Regions from separate parts of the Homo sapiens genome. Here region 2 is linked to region 1. The links are contacts of gene promoters, found by promoter capture Hi-C in blood cells and fetal thymus (Javierre and others, 2016). All regions are on one chromosome and are shown on one strand. The core of a region is centred on a gene start or on the middle of the fragment in contact, and the rest is flanking DNA. Distances in the headings are between cores, read along the strand shown. Region 1 holds the start of DOCK8 (dedicator of cytokinesis 8). Region 2 holds the start of LOC124902109 (a long non-coding RNA gene).

Region 1 (4,142 bases), core at 1-2,500:
GGAAATAAAATCGTCAATAAAGCTCGATATGCCCTCTAGAAGACCTTATCGCCTTGTTTTTCTAGGCTTTTAATTCCTTGTTCAAACCTCTTCACACACTAACAGCACAAAGATGAACCTACGGTGGAATCCACCTTTCACAGGCTCAGCTAAGTGAAGATTAACAAATCGGACAGCCCTGTGGGCAATAGAATAAGTTGACACTTTAGAATGAGTTTCCTATTATCTTTTAACTAGACAGTCTAGCTTTCTCAGGGCAAGACAAAAATGTCCCAATTACTTGTCAGCAGTTTTTAGTGGAGGAAAAACTGCAGTTAAAGCACCTTTACTGAGAACTTTGAGCAGTAAATGTGCTTACATATTTAGTTTGTGCAACTTTGATTAGGAATTGGATGGTGAGTTGGGATCCCCCAGTCCTTAGCTTTTTGCTGGAGTTCTGTAAATCTCAAAATGTCAGCCACAGGCCATTTCTTTTGGTTTATTTAAGTGTAGATTTTTTAAAAAATCACTTTTTCCACTTCATGGCTCCTTTGGACCAGGGTATAAAAATAGCGATGCCACCAGGAGCCAAGCTCTTTCTGGAATAATGAAGCAGGCGAGGACGGAGCCTTGCTCAGGACGACAGAAGGCTTGCAGCCTGCCTCAAACGCAACTCTAATTTCAGCCACTTCACTTCTTCCCCCCGCGCTCAGACTTGCCTCAAAGGAAGGAGCCGTTTATGAGACACTCCGTGGCGCGCCCAACACGGTTACCCAGGCGCCTATCACCCTTCTGGGACCCGGCCACCTGTAAGAACCTGGAGGGCGGAGCGGGCGAGGTTGTTCGGGGAAGGGATCCCCGGCGGCTGAGGACATCCAGGAGCACCGAGATTCTTGGGGAGGACCTCGCCGGGCCCAGCGCAGGAGCCGCCGCGCGTCCAGCGGCTCCACCGCCGCAGCCTCGGGAACCGGGCGCCCCAGGTCTCAGGCGCGCCCCGCCGCGGACGCGAATGGACTCGTCCGGCCTCGGCCCCTGCAGCGAAGCTCCGCTTCACACCAGCGCTGGGCTGTCCGGCCGCAACCTGCGCGCCGCGGGGGGCGTCTTACCTGTTGATCTTGAGCGCGAACGCGCGGCGCTCTGCGCTCGGCAGAGTGGCCATGGCCCGCCGGCGGTTCGGTGGCTTCTAGGGTCGCGGGGTGCGGAAAGCGGGGGCCTGGCGCGCCGCAGAGTAGCCGCGGAACATGCCCAGCCAAGCGCAAACCTCGTCTGTCGGTCGGCGCTGGAAACTTCCGCATTTCCACCTTCTAAGCCGAAATCACCCCGGGGGAGGGTCCGAGCTCGGAGCAGCGACGGCCGGCTCCGCCACCCGGCCTGGCGCGCAGGCAGCGGCGGGCGAGGAGGGCGTGGGCCCAGCGCGGAACTGGCCTCCCGATACTGGGGCAGACGGCGCGCTCTGCCCGGGGCCGCCGACCTCCGGCCGAAGGGAGCGCGGGCGGACGACAGGCGACCACTGCGCGCAGGCCGGAAGCTCCATCTGCCCGAAGCTGCGAGGCTGCCAGGGAATGTAGGCAAGTCGGGGGAGCCCCACAAAGCTGGCGAGGTCGGGAATCACCCCAGGGATTCGTAAGGCTAGGTGTTATTAAGGGTTGACACCATTCTCGAAGAAGGCAGCCAAAAAAAAAGACAAAAAAGTTAGTGGAATCTATCAGGATTCAAATCAACTTTTGCAAGCAATATGCCCATCATCCTTCCTGAGACACTAAATAAATATAATGGATTCATCCAAGGAATAAACATTATGAGTTCTCAAAAAATGTTTTCGTCACAACCTGGCGTGAATGCTTTTCTCCGGAGAAACACTGAAGGCGGCGTTCTTGCGATTCAAGGGTACGCTGCGTCCAGGTTTATTTCAGTTTCAGACTGAGGTCTGCTAAGAAGCCCGGCCTCAAACTCAAGATAAAAACAGAAAAGTCCCAGTGTTGACGGGAGTGGAGGAGCCCGTGTTCGCTTCAAGGTGCCGGCGTGCTGCTCTAACCTGTGCTATATATACTCGAGCACTCTCCATATAATGCCTCCATTTACCAACTTGCTCTTAAAAAATACCAAAGCAGGCCGGGCGCGGTGGCTCACGCCTGTGATCCCAGCACTTTGGGAGGCCGAGGCGGGCGCATCACGAGGTCAGGAGATCGAGACCATCCTGGCCAACGTGGTGAAACCCCGTCTCTACTAAAATACAAAAAATTAGCCGGGCGTGGTGGCGCACGCCTTAGTCCCAGCTACTTGGGAGGCTGAGGCAGGGGAATCACTTGAACCCGGGAGGCGGAGCTTGCAGTGAACCGAGATCTGCCACTGCACTCCAGCCTGGCGACAGAGCAAGTCTCCGTCTAAAAGAAAAAAAAAAAAACAACCAAAGCGAAGTATTTTTGGTTCAAACCTGCACTATTTAATATGATAGCCACTAGCCACATGTGGCTATTGACCACTCGGCATTATGGTTAGTCTGAATTGCCCACTGCTGGATGTGTAAAATGTACACTGGAATTTAAAGACAGCGCAGAAAACATCGTGTAAAATGTCTTGTTAATGATTTTCATGTTGATTGCATGTTAAATGATACTTTGGATATAAAAAATATATTATTAAAGTTAATTTCACCTGTTTGTTTTCCCCTTTTAAAAATGTGGTTTGCATTTTTAAAAATGTAAAATTACACATGTGGCTCACATTTGTGAGCCTCATTATATTCCTATTGGACAGTGCCAGTCCAATACAACCTAATTTGTCACCTAATACTAAAATCCACCTAAGGACTATATTCAGTCTCTTCCTGATACAGCCTTCCTTCCTGGTTTCAGCTGTGTCAGGTAGTTTAGTAACTTTTCAGTACTGGTTAGGTAACTCCCCGCCCCCCAATGCCCACCAAATATCAGTGCCCTTTTAAGCATATAAGACAAAGTTCACTGCATAGACTACAATAGACTACATACGAAAACAAACCCAAAGAAAAATAAAGCTTTTTTGAAATTTAGAGTTTCTGACTTTCAAAACTGTCCTTATTTACTACATTGGAATTTATGAGCAAACATTTGGATAGCAAAATACAAAGAGAACAAATGTGTAAGTACTTCTTCAAACTGAGACTCAACGAATGATACATAGAAAACATTTTGCCCCAGAGGCTTCGGTCCACGGTGTACCATGTCAGCCTTTCGGATGAACTCCTCTGAATTTCTGAATGTTTATGACATACATTTTCATATAGAACAAAAATATACTGGTTTCACACAAACATAAATAAAATGTAATGAAAGCATCTCAGATTTTCAGCATTTGCAATCAAGGAAACTTTTTGGGTGAATGTGGGAATCATAAAACCTTCCATCTTGCCTCAGATCATACTGCAATAGATTTAGTATTTGGTACCTAACCATGAAGGTTAGGCCAGCATTATTATCCTCTGTGCTGTCAATTTCTTGATGGTTAGAATTGTCTCCAGATTTCCTTAACACTCTTTTAACAATTCACCATGAATGTGTTATCCATTAATTTAGTCAAATGCCTGTTTTCAAGTTTGATCTGCTGTTAGATACATTCACATATTGCTGGCAAATAGCCATCCAAGTGCCTTTCTTCCTTATTCTCACTGCCTCTTTCGTTTTCCATCAGCCCTCTGTCCAGAGAGAACTCTGGGAGGCCTCCTTCTTTCCGCATCTGATGGTCTCTCTTGGCCTTCCTCTTTCTCCGTATCTTTGTGTCATTCAATTTTGTTTTTCACCTTTATACAACTCTTCCCTTGACTTCTATCTCAGACCATACATCAATTATCCTAAATGCTCTAGTTTTCCCCACATCTTCTTCTTACCTCCCCAGAAAGCCGACCTCTTTCTCTACATTGCATCTTACCTATTTTATTGAACAAACAACTAAATAACACTTATCTTGTACCGGGTACTGCTCCAAGTCCTTTATAAAAATTAATTCATAGCAACCATTAAATAATAACATTAACCCCCCCACACATACCTCTTTGCAACTGGAGAAACTGAGGCTTAGAGAAGTTAAGTGACTTGACCAAGATTACAAACTAGTAAGGGCAGAGCCATTTCCTATCCTAAAGTTTTGCCTATTTCCCAGATTTCTGTACTCTAACATCTTCAAACTCC
Region 2 (5,323 bases), core at 1,462-3,961, 550 kb before region 1:
CAAGAGACATCAATCAAATACATTTGAGCACTACATTGGTTTAGTCCAGAAAGGTGGGGGCAAGTCAAAGGGTTGAGAGGGTGGGGCGCGGGTTTCCAGGCTATAGGTGAGTTTAAGTATTTTGACAATTGGTTGAGTTTGTCTGAAGACCTGGGATTCATAGAAAAGGAATGTTCAGGTTAAGATAAAGATTGTGGAGACCTAAGTTGTTTTGAAGTCTCATAGTGCTGCCCTTAGAGACAACAGATGACAAATGTTTCTTATTTAGATCTTAGTTAATCTCTTTAGGATTGGGAGGGTCTGGAAGAAAAGGATCTAGCTGTGTTAATAGATTCTTTACAGATGCAAATTTTCCCCTATACAGAACAGCTTTGCAGGGCCATTACAAAATATGACGAACATGTTTTGGGGTAAAATATTTTGATTTTCTCCCTTGTCTCATGTTATGCCAGAGTCAGTTTGGAAAGTAAGTCACAATATATAGGGCTAATTAAAACCCATCTGATGAGAATTTGTGATTTGTAGGGCGTGATGCCCCAGACCCCTTAGATAGGAGTTTGGGCAAGATAAAAAAACATAATTTAGTCCTCGTGGGGTTTCACCCTGTTGCCCAGGCTGGTCTTGAACTCCTGACCTCAAGTGATCTGCTTGCATCAGCCTCCCAAAGTGCTGAGATTATAGGCCTGAGCCACTGCACCCAGCCTGATCTATGCTTTGCAGGCACTTTATCTGTGATATTTCATTTAATGTTTATAACATCATACCCATTTGGCTTTCTAGAAGCTCAGTGGTTACAAGTCTAGAGACAGGCATTTTTACCATCCATATTCTATAGATGTAGAAACTAGGGCTTAAAAAGGTAAAGTCCCTTGCTCAAAGTCTCGGCTGGTAAACGGGAAGCTAGGAGTCTAAGTTAGGTCTGTCTGGTTCCAGAGCTGCTGCTTTCTGGAACCCTGCAACATGGTGGCGCTTGTTCTCCATTGCAGAGCATTGGGGTTGGTCGTAAGGTGATGGTGATGGCGGTGGCCGTATGGTGGAAGGAACTTCATCCTTCGCAGACCAAGGGATATCGAGGAGAGTGCAATATGCAGATTCAGACACTAGGTGACAGAGTGCCACAGGGCAGACAACTCGCTACGCCTGGGTCTGCGGGGTGTGGTTCTCTCCTGCGTCCTGTATTCTTTTAAATTAAGAAAAGGCTACGCGCTCCTGTAAACCCTGTGGTCTTTTACACTAGGGCCAGGATATGTGCAACTAGATATATGCCCAAACTGTACGTGTTTCTTCCTTTATTGCGAGACATGAAGGAATTAAAGAACGAAAGAGGAAAGGAAAAGAGCAGTGGACTCAATACTGTAAAAGGCAAAGATTCCCTTTAAATTGCTTTTTAGAAAGTTTTTTTCAAAAAGATTTTTAAAGTTTTTTAAAAAGGATTTTAATAAATTATAATGTTTTATTTGGAAACATTTAATATTAAATTTCATTTAATTTCCACTTAGTTTTTAAAATTACTTTTATTTTACTCTGTCGCCCAGGCTGGAGTGCAGTGGTGCCCTCTCCACTTACTGCAACCTCTGCCTCCTCAGCTCACGCGATTCTCCTGCCTCAGATTCCGGAACAGCTGGGATTACAGGCGCCCACCACCATGCCCAGCTCATTTTTTTTGTATTTTCAGTAGAGAGGGAGTTTCGCCATGTTGGCCAGGCTGGTCTCGAACTCCTGATCTCGAGTGATCCGCCTGCCTTGGCCTCCCAAAGTGCTATGATTACGGGCGTGAGCCACTGTGTCCGACCTCCACCTAGTTTTTGAAAGAAGTAGTTCTCTTTCCATTTTTATTTTTTATTTTTTATTTATTTATTTTTGAGACGGGGTATCGCTCTGTCGCCCAAGCTGGAGTGCGCTGGTGCAATCTCGGCTCCCTGCAAGCTCCGCTTCCTGGGTTCACGCCATTCTCCTTCCTCAGCCTCCCGAGTAGCTGGGACTACAAGCGTGAGCCACCACGCCCGGCTAATTTTTTGTATTTTTAGTAGAGATGGGGTTTCACCGTGTTAGCCGGGATGGTCTCGATCTCCTGACCTCGTGATCCACCCGCCTCGGCCTTCCAAAGTGCTGGGATTACAGGCGTGAGCCACTGCGGCCGGCCCCAAAATAGGCTCATCTTTTGATGTTGCCCACAAGTGAATAAAGTTAAGGCAAAAGGTAGGTGTAGTGTAGTTGGCCCTGGAAGCCCGTCTTTTGGCCTTCACCTTACTTTAGGACGAAGTAGGGTCTGTCCAGTGGCCTACAAGAGGAAGTAATTCTGCTTTTTCCAAAGTTGCCTGGAGCATATTTTCAAAAATGAAGACTCTCACTTTAACTATATGAAGTCTGGTGCACACTATTTTGCATGCTGTGATTACTGGTTATTTAAGCTTCATCAATGAAAAGAAACAGCAGAGCAAGAGTCAAGCTTTAGTCTAATAAGAAATGAGAAACAGAAGCTGTCAGCCACCGAATGGGAACGAAGGGGTAGTGAGGCAAGGACATGCCACCTTCCTACTCTACAACTCAGAACCTCACAAGGGAGGCTGTTTTGCCTCTCTAGTTCCATGTTAAGCTGGTTTTAATCTCCATCTTGATTGCCTTCCTTCCAAATGGATGGATGTATTCAGAGAGATTGTCCTGATCCATCCTGATTGTCTGCCAATGTATCTGCTGATGTGGGTAGGGCCACCTGGCATACACTTGCAGGGCCATGCTCTTGTGAATCAGACAGTCACATTGCATGGCAAAGGAGACCTGCATTTGATGTTCAAAAATGAGAGAGCCCAAGGAGCCTCAGCTCTTGGTTGCAACACTGGGGACAAACTATGAATAATAAAGTGAGTGACACAAGGGCTTAAGGTCAGGAACTCCTGTGGCATTTTGGTTTAGCTCAGTTGGAGGTGTGGGAGGAGTGTGATGGAGCTGAACCCAGATTACGGAGGAAGCTTCATCATGCCAGACCGAGCTGAAGCCATTGAGTGGCTTTCAACAGGGAATAACATGACTGTACTGAAAGCGGCAGGGCTGACATTGGGGAGACCAGTTCTGATGACCTTGCAGCAGTCCAGAAGAAATGATGGTGCCCTGAACTGTGTTAGCAGCAGTGGAAGAGGGTGGACCCAAGAGCTGTGGGGAGGAAGAACCTGTAGACTTGACGACCACCTAGCTAACATATTCATGGCAATGAGTCTTGGAAGTTCTACAGCGCACCTGGAGGGATGGTGGGATCAGCGAGGCCAACACTGAGAGAAACGCAGGCGTGGATGCCCTGGCACAACCTCGCAGCAGATCCTAATTCCTGGGAGGACCCCTTTCCTTCCCACATTTGACAAAGACAGTCTACGCAGATTCCCTAGAAAAACCTCCTCGCTGCCCACAGGTTGCTTTTTTTTTTTGTTCCCCATCAGAGCAGCCTGCTGGAACTCAGCAAGGCAGTGGACAATCCAATGGTCGTACCAGCGATTGTCCATACCTGTGGGATAACTAGGAAGACAGTTATTTTTGTGTGAGTGCCTGTGTGCTCTGGGGAGAGATGCCAGTGAGTGAAACTGGAATGAACAACCTGACCTCGAGGAAAAAAATGACCTTATCGTTAACAAAATAGTGAATGCTTCCACAGTGCCTGTTTGTACAGAGTGCTTCACAAGCATGAGCTCATGTGATTTCCTCATCACTTGCTTTTCCAGCTGTAACAGGTTTGGAGAAGGCAGCTGTGGATTCTCTTTAGCTTTTGTTTGAGAGGTTTCTCTCTTCCTGGTCAAGAAGCCACATGACCCGAATGTAACTAGGACGGTGTTGTTGAGCACTTGCTTGTGGACCCCTCTGGGGTCTGCAGATGACTGGCAGGATGCTGGAGCCTGCAGGTTTTGCTAGTTTCCTACTTGCATGGATCCTTTCTTGCCCCAGCTCTGGATAGGTTCCCAGGCTTCATTAGAATTCATGGACGGTTATCTGCAAAGACTTCTGGACAAGAAGGTATAATGGTTCTTTTATGTGTCAATTTGACTGTCAAGGGATGCCCAGAAAGCTGGCACACCTCTGCGTGGGTGTCTCTGAAAGGGATGAGCATTTGAATTGGTGACCGAGTAAAGAAGGCTTTCCTCACCACTGCGGGTGGGTACCATTCAGTCTACGGAGGGCTTGAATAGGACAACAACGTGTAGGAAGATAGAGTTCCCGTTCTGCTTGAGCTGGGACCTCCATCCTCTCCTGCCCTCAGACACTGGCTTCCCTGGTTCTTAGGCCTTTGGGTCTGGGCTGGAGCCACACCCCTGGCTTTCCTGGGCCTCCACCTCACAGATGGCAGACCACAGGACTTCCTGGCCTCAGTAATTGCATATGCCAGTCCCTTGTAGTCGATCACTTTCTATACATCTATATATATCCTATTGGTTCTGCTCCTCTGGAGAGCCCTAATACAATGGAGTATCACAGGAGTGTGTCCCCCAAACCCTATGCTGTGTAGCACCCTGATTCCTGTGGCACCTTTCTTCTGATGTAGGAGATGTTAATACTGGTGGTAAGGTTGAAAATAATTTTTTAAAATGGCTAGACACACAAAGTAGCAGTGTATTTAAACCTTGTCTGCTATTTTAGTAGCATGAGGCATTCCTGAATAAAAAGGAAATAGCAGAAGCAAGCAGGCTGGTCGCTTGGGAAGGGCACCTTGAGGGGCCCTTATCAGAGCTACAGCCCGAGGTACTGTGGCAGGTAAATAAGTTCTGTTCTTGTTGACCGATCAATGGAAGTGTTTAGACTTGCCGGCGAAAACCACAACCTAGAGAACACAGATGGCCCCACTGCAAGGACAAGGAGTCTCTTGGAGCTCAGACTTCCGAATAATACATTTTCTCCACAGCGCCTGGAAACTGTGTTCTTGTTGATTTTCTGGGAGACAGCAAAGCCTCCCTCCTCCTTCCCCTCATCCTCAGGGTGGGAGTGACAGCCTCATCACTTGCATTTTCAAGTAAATCTGGCTTGCAGAAAGCAGCTGTGGATTCTCTTTGGCTTTCTTTCTAGAAGTTTCTGTCTTCCTAGTCAGTGAGTCACATGACTTAAATGTAACAAGGGCATGGTTCTCAGGTGCCTGATGCTTCTGGGCTTTGTAGAGTACTGGCCAAACCCGCCATGGTGGCCATGGTAGGCTGGGGCGTGGGACTCAGGCACGCAGAACACTGCACAGTTGGGTCTTCAAGAGCAAGGGCATCTCCAGAATCAGACTTCTGTGTCCTTAAGCAGGGTCTAGAATGTGTCAGGGAACCAGTTCTGGGCCTGAAGAATTGTTTTTTGTCCTGTTGTT

The links. Contacts are between HindIII fragments. The CHiCAGO score rates a contact against its expected background, and 5 or more counts as called.
Region 2: a contact is called between a fragment that was not itself captured here and the fragment with the promoter of DOCK8 in region 1, in 1 of 17 cell types (M0 macrophages). The highest score is 5.7, in M0 macrophages.

Annotation. Positions count from the first base shown.
Region 1 is chr9:211,973-216,114 of GRCh38, reverse strand. DOCK8 (dedicator of cytokinesis 8) reads right to left here and starts at 1,250. Exons shown (of 48, transcript NM_203447.4): 1 at 1,086-1,250. The coding sequence starts at 1,138. It overlaps DOCK8-AS1 (DOCK8 antisense RNA 1), which reads left to right and starts at 365. Exons shown (of 1, transcript NR_160804.1): 1 at 365-2,658. RefSeq lists silencers at 776-915, 1,086-1,135, 1,186-1,235, 1,246-1,495. The HindIII fragment of the contact is 3,855 bases long and covers 1-2,994 here.
Region 2 is chr9:759,975-765,297 of GRCh38, reverse strand. It overlaps LOC124902109 (a long non-coding RNA gene), which reads left to right and starts at 3,917. Exons shown (of 4, transcript XR_007061394.1): 1 at 3,917-3,999. RefSeq lists a silencer at 3,575-3,869. The HindIII fragment of the contact is 520 bases long and covers 2,452-2,971 here.